2 separate regions of the Homo sapiens genome follow, and region 1 is linked to region 2. Evidence: promoter capture Hi-C in 16 types of primary human blood cells and fetal thymus (Javierre and others, 2016). All regions are on one chromosome and are shown on one strand. The core of a region is centred on a gene start or on the middle of the fragment in contact, and the rest is flanking DNA. Distances in the headings are between cores, read along the strand shown. Region 1 overlaps FSIP1 (fibrous sheath interacting protein 1). Region 2 holds the start of FAM98B (family with sequence similarity 98 member B).

Region 1 (3,743 bases), core at 316-2,815, 1.2 Mb after region 2:
GATTTAATAAGGAATAGATTAATAGATAGAAATGTAATAGCCAATATATTTTAGAGTAATCTACAATAGAGGTAAAAATTGAATCTATTTAAATAGATTCACCAATTGTTACACAGATTTCTAACATAAATAATTGAATATTTGTTTGTGTCGAAAACTAGTTATTGTTGTATCCTGTACCATGACCATTGCAAGATGAAACACTAGATCGTGACGAAACACCTGAGAACATAGGAGTGGCTCAGGAGAGGAGGTTTGCATACAGAAACTAATATAACCACAATGAGTTACAAGTTTTACATTTTAAATTCATTCCTTAGAACAAATTTTCATCACTAAAGTTTGAAAATACTAAAGTTTGAAGTTGAAATACTAAGCAAATCTATTCAAAGTATTTCTCTCCATTCAAACTAATTTCTCTTTTCCTGTGAAACCAACATTATTTTCTGGATGACACAATTAATTACCATCAAGAATAACGTATTTCATAGAGTACTAACCTCAACTTTGATTTCATAAGAGCATTGGGAAATAGGTTTTATGTTTGCATACTCTTATTGACGCTACCTGTGACTTACAAACATACCTTCTTACCCGACTCTAATTTAAACCATAATACCTTTATATTGAGGTGCTTTTAAGAATTATTTACCAAAACACATGTTCGCCAAGCCTCACCTGCTATTGTATTCTCTGGAGAACTGAGTTTCAGATGTTGGTCTTCTGATGAAAGGCTCACACTGATACCATACAGTGGATCATCTAAGAAGGAGGGCCTTTTCAGTCTCCCAATGCCAAGAGTCTTCGACATAAAATAGTCTTTTGTGTCACTAATAATAACGTCCTTGGAAAATTGAAGGCATTTCATATTCTCTGCTTCAGTGACAAGAGCTTCTGACATGTTATGTCCAGTCAAGGCTTTAGTGAGATAGTAGCCTTTAGAAGCTTCACATTCTTCACTCTCAAGCATATCTGCATCTTCTACCTCAGTTTTCTGGACCTTTGTTTCTGATTCATTTAGCAATTTAGAGATGATGGACCTGGAAAGCTGGGGGAACACAGGTGTTACGTCCTCAATGTCTTCCTTTTTTCTTTCTGAAGAAAGTTTAATGATGGATTTTTGTTTAAGTATGCATTCATCCAGAAGACACTTTAACTGTTCTTCAGAGAGACATGATGTGGACTCTAACTGATGAAACAAACCAAAAGATTACATAGTCAGTTGACTGAGTAAACACATTTATTTTTGGTAGGCATCCAGTAATACAAATATAAATGCAAGTAACCCCTTACACAACACATAAAAATAGAAAAATAATTCATTGTAAAGTATCCAAAACTGTAGGGGAAATGTCATAATCCTGGCAAAATCTTTGGTTGGTGTTTCTCTGACCCCACCCATCCCTCAGCATGAATCCCACCACCATCCAATTCCTTACTGGGAAAAAAATTGGCATACAAGGCAGACTACCCCTACCTCTGGGGATTCAGCACTCCCATGTCTGTCCACAACTATCAGTGGACAATACTGCTGAAGACAGAAAAGGAAGGGTGAAGGGTGGTGCATCCTGCAATGTGTCGTTGCTGCAAAGCTACAGGTCTAGGCAGAGGCCAGGGGCATTCCAGAGGCGGTGTATTTGGGGAGAATGATTTGATCATGCATACTTAATCTCTGCTTGTAAAGGTTACCAGGGCTAAGTGTTTCAACCAAGACCTTAAATATTTAAAAACATTTTTTTTCTTTCAGCAATATTCTCAGGAAATAAATTTTTAAAAATCAAATGAAAGTAGAGAGCCATGTCCCACAAGACTTCAGCTGAATACCATAACATTTGAGTTGCAACAATCTCAAAAAGGAATGAGATTAAAATATAGTGAAACACACTGAAAAAAAAATGTCTACTTCCCCAAAAAATCAGTGTCTTCCATGGTTTACATGTGGATTATCTAGGAAAAGACTAATCCTCCTTTACAGGGGGATGAATTATCTGAGAACAAGAAGTCCCCATAAGAAAACTTAATCATGAATTTCAATGACTTTAATTTCTACTTCAGCAAAGTAAAATAATGTTATTGGCCTACTCTGAAGGTACATAGTAAAAAATAACTAAATATTCTGCATATGTAAAGTACTGAAATAAAAAGCTATTACTGATACTAGTATAGTTAATTCTCCACTATTAGGTAAAGCTTCTAATGCAACTAATAAATACTAATATGTAAAACAATTTTGTGCCATGTTTAAAAAATATTGTTTAAAATTATGTTTAACTTACCTATATTAAAACTAGTTTTTACAGTGGCAAGTGTCACTATGAGTATGAGGATAATAAGAAATTGTCTGGAAATATATTCTTAGTAATTATTTGGAATTCAAAATTCAGGTGACTGACCCTAAGGTTAATATACATGTCAAGAAATAGGATTTGAGATTTGGAATTCAAAATTCAGGTGACTGACCCTAAGGTTAATATATATGGCAAGAAATAGGATTAGAATTATGTATTAGCAAATTCTACTTTTAGTCACTAGGCATTTCAGGAATCCAGATATAGTATTTTATCCATCTGTATCCAGAATCAGGAGCATTATCTCCACCCTACTATGGAAACCTAGTCAAGTAGAAAATGAAGGAAGTCCTTCTATGACATTAGATACCTAAAACACACTTTCAAACTTTGCTTATGTAAAATTACATATAATGTGTAGACAATTCCCTACGATTTAGAAAGAGCCCGCTGAGTGTCATCCTTACCAAACATCCTCATCAAAGCCTTATTATGATGAAATTTTTAGACACTAGAAAAAAAATCAGTCCATATTAGAGCAGGAGGAGGTCTCTAGGGAAAAAAGGGTAGGAGGGAGGATTGGTAGATTATCCAATATGCTTGACCATTTCCAAAAGTAATATTGATATGATAGATGTTTGGCAGTTCTGATGATGTATTTGGCTAAATACACAGAAAATGAAGCAGAAGGAAAATCAAAGCAATTATGAACTCTGGGGAAAACAAAAAGTTTTACAAAAAAAAGGAAAAGCAGTGACATATACACAGAAAATTAGGCAAAAGAAACTAAGATAATTATGAAGTCTAGGACAAACAAAAAGTTACATGAGAAAGGATGCCATAGGCTAATAATTGCTTCTGCTGTGAATAATATTTACACAGTCAATGATAATATAAATACTGATGACTAAGGTAAGCAAAAATTGTGACTTAACTATTTTGGGGAAATGTGACGAGAAACAAGGGGTGTTTGCACTTTATTAGTTAAATTATTGCCTACCATTACAGCAACCCAATATATAATGTCTAAAACTAATCAATTAAGAAAGTAAGTTATTAATAAATAATATAGAGGTAAAATTAGGAAAAACACAAAAGATTTAAAAGCAGTTAACTGGAGAAAATATCAAGGGGTAGGGAAGGCTGAGGCAAGGGGCTGCCATTTTTATTTAAAACATTTTAACACAATTTTTTCTTTATTACTATAACAAAAGTTAAAATTAAATATAAAAATAAAAGTAATTTAAATGTATTCTTTTTTTTTTGACATGGAGTCTTGCTCTGTCGCGCAGGCTGGAGTGCAGTGGCGCAATCGTGGCTCACTGCAACCTCTGCTTCCTGGGTTCAAGCGAGTCTCGTGTCTCAGCCTCCCCGGTAGCTGGAATTATAGGCACCCACCACCACACCTGGCTAATATATATATATATATATTTATATTTTTAGTGGAGACAGGGT
Region 2 (3,458 bases), core at 618-3,117:
CAAGAGTACTAAGACTAGTACCTTCTATGACACCCCAACTCTGACAAGAGGCAGTAACCACTAATATACATTCTCCTCTCCCTTATTTGGAGATGAATTCAGATACATTAAACTGCAAGTAATTTTACGCTTAAGCCTTGTACAACACTAAAATATACAGTAATAATAGTCATTATACAAATGTATGGTTGAGTTTATGATATGGTTAGGATCTGTGTCTGTGCCCAAATCTCATGTTAAATTATAATCCCCAATGTTGGAGGAGGGACCTGGTGGGAGGTGATTGGATCATGAGGGCAGAGTTCTCTTGAATGGTTTGACACCATTCCTGCCTTGGCACTGTATAGTGAGTGAGTTTATCATGAGATCTGGTTTTTTAAAAGTGTGTGGCAGATCACGAGGTCAGGAGTTCGAGACCAGCCTGACCAACCTGGTGAAACCCCGTCTCTACTAAAAATACAAAAATTAGCCGGGTGTGGTGGTGGGCGCCTGTAATCCCAGCTACTCGGGAGGCTGAGGCAGGAGAATCGCGTGAACCCGGGAGGCGGAGTTTGCAGTGAGCTGAGATCATGCCACTGCACTCTAGCCTGGGCGACAGTGCGAGACTGAAAAAAAAAAAAAAAGTGTGTGGCACCTCCCTGCCTCCCTGCACCCTCTCTCTTCCTCTTACTCCGGCCACGTGATAGCTGCACTCCCCCTTCCCCTTCTGCCACAACTGTCCATTTCCTGAGGCCTCCCCAGGAGTGGAGCAGATGCCAGCATCATGCTTCGTGTACAGCCTGTGGAACCATGAGCCAATTAAACCCCTTTTCTTTATAAATTACCCAGTCTCAGGTATATCTTTATAGCAATATGAGAGTGGACTACTACAGCTTACCTTTGAGTGTTTTACACATTTATGGGTATGCTTTTTGTTTGTAACCATAATTAGGAAGGCGAGAGCATTACTGGTCTTTATTGGACTGGGGCTACGAATGCTATGTAGTCTGCAATGGAAGGGACAGGTCCATACAAGGGATCAATAGTTATACTTCATGCAGGATTTCCAACAGTTCTGCTAGAGTATTCATGTAGGTGACATGCCTGCTAATAATGATCTAACCTTATACTCTTAGTACCTTTTACATATGAACCCTAAAATACATTTTTTAAATCCTTTAGATAAGAGATTGAATTCTTCATGGATAGTACACAGAGGGTATATTATGTTTTGTTTGTTTGGAACTTTACAGAGAATTCGCCACAATTTTGGAAAACCACATCAACTACCTTACTTTGCTGGCGGTATGTTTGTTGCTTATACAACTAATGCTTTGTCAGCAATGAAGCACATCATCTGAATATGCAGTTGAGGGGATTCTACATAGATAGATGCAAGCATCTGATCACTTCATTGGTCTTCCGCATTTCATAAGGAGAAAAATATTACCTTGTTATAAATTACTTCATTTTTTCCTTCAAGTTGAAGCATCGTCGTGTATATTGATTTAAAAATTATATGTGTAGGCATGTGATATTAGTTACTAATTTTAGCTGAAGATAATTATAATTTTATTTCAGATTTCTGTTATTAAAAAGGTCTGGAATCGGATAGGTTGAGATCAACCCGATACCACGATATTTGCTAAAATTTATTTGAACACACAGAAAAGTCCCAACACAGAGAACTCTTTATTACTATTATTTATTATTTCTACTATTCTTTTAAAAAATTATTATCGTTACACGCAGCGGTTTTAGGCACTATGAAGTGTTTATTGCCTCGGGGCTGGGAACCTTTGCGCCCTTCTTCAGCTGTGCTCTCAGGCAGTTACCGGCCAGACCCGGACCGGAACCTTGGCGCGGTGACGCTAGTTTCCGGCGGGCTACTTAGAGCGCCGAACAGCTCTGGGCCAAAGGACCATGAGAGGGCCGGAGCCGGGTCCCCAACCGACGATGGAGGGAGACGTGCTGGACACACTGGAGGCGCTGGGGTGAGTGCTTTTGGAGACGCCTTTTCCCTGAAAACGCAACCTCTCCTTGGCCTGGCTGCTTAGCCTACTTCCCTTGGGCCTCTGTGGGCCTGGGCGGCCATGTGTAGGCCTCCTTCCCTGCCTCGATCCCTCCGGCGCCGACGGAGTTAAGCGGGAGGCGGGAGAGAAATCTATTTGGGGGGTGGAGCAGGGCCGGAGAGCTGGGGTTCGTGGCCCCCTCTTCGAAACTTCTTGCCTCGAAACTCTGTTGCAGGAATCCGCCGGGTGGCGCGGAGCGGCCCTTCTAGCACCGGTTTTCTGGGCTAGCTCGCGCCCGCAGGTGATATTTGTGTTGACGTAGTTCTGGCGCCCGGAGGGAGGTGCTGGAACCTGAGCTGCTGTTGAGGACTGTTGTCTCCTACAATGTACAACTTGTGGCTTACTTGGGGCTCTGGAGCGAATGGCTTTTACTTTGACCGGAGAAAGTGTTGTAGTTCATTGCGAGTTCGTTCTTTCAACCATTTCGTCCGTTCGTCAACGTGTATATTAGCTTGTATATTAATTTACACATATTTACGTTTGTAAATTTCCCCTAGGCAAGGGAAAAGGATAGTTTTTCAGATTACTCTTGGCTTACATAGTCGCGCAGGCTGCAAGTCTGCTGCCGGCTGGTATTTACAGTGCAGAATGGTAAGTGCTGTGAGAACTCAGGGTGGAGGTGGGAGTAATGTTAATACTTAACAAGTGTGGTGGTTCGTAATCTCCCCCTCAACCTCATCCTGTTTTTTTCCACACAGCTCTTGTCCCCATCCCAAATTATCATGTCCTGCCCATTCATTTGTCTCTTGAACTCTGCTTCTCCCTCGTTTTATTCCTCCTCCTCCCCAAGTCAGCTCCTGGAAAACTGATGCTTTGCATATTTTATTCACCGATGTTTTCCCAGCAACACACTAGAACGGAGTCTTTTACAGTAAATAGTGGTTGAATGAATGAGTAAATGAATGAAGAAAAGCTTAGAGAAGAGTCCACAGCAGTAAGCATAGGACCAGATAGTTGAGTCATACAGTGCACATTAAATAAAGAGCTTGGAGCCATCTGCACATTTGTTTGCCCTGCTACGTGCTGCTGTTTCTTGATAGGGGAAGCTGTGCCTTTGCAGCGTTATTATGAAGCTTGAACCAATCCCACACCCCACTTTATCTTCTCTAAAACTGCATTTGCCCCTCTATCAATTGTTTCTTTAGTTGAACCCTGATAATACCTACTTTGCAGTGACCCAGGGTTACGGAGTCTTGCACTTAGTAGATCGTGAATACATATTTGTCAAACGAAAGAACAGTGCCATTGATTATTTAGGGGGCATTTTTACTTCTGTGAAGTCCCTTGGAAGTTCTCACTTAACTTGGTTAAGAAGGAACCAAAACAAGAACTGAAAATACTTAGTAGAATTATTTAGGCTCCAAACAGTTTGAGCTCCCAAGTACTTCAGGTAAGAATATTGGGAAC

The links. Contacts are between HindIII fragments. The CHiCAGO score rates a contact against its expected background, and 5 or more counts as called.
Region 1: a fragment that was not itself captured here is called in contact with the fragment with the promoter of FAM98B in region 2 in 3 of 17 cell types (naive CD8 T cells, total CD8 T cells and total CD4 T cells); the score reaches 7.6 in naive CD8 T cells.

What each region holds. Positions count from the first base shown.
Region 1 is chr15:39,617,057-39,620,799 of GRCh38, forward strand. FSIP1 (fibrous sheath interacting protein 1) reads right to left here. Exons shown (of 12, transcript NM_152597.5): 11 at 679-1,189. Among named protein-coding and RNA genes, the nearest start is that of THBS1-IT1, 33 kb to the left of the region's middle. RefSeq lists an enhancer at 278-1,477. The HindIII fragment of the contact is 1,245 bases long and covers 944-2,188 here.
Region 2 is chr15:38,452,260-38,455,717 of GRCh38, forward strand. It overlaps FAM98B (family with sequence similarity 98 member B), which reads left to right and starts at 1,868. Exons shown (of 8, transcript NM_173611.4): 1 at 1,868-1,973. The coding sequence starts at 1,903. RefSeq lists enhancers at 2,016-2,125, 2,186-2,285. The HindIII fragment of the contact is 3,660 bases long and covers 1-2,962 here.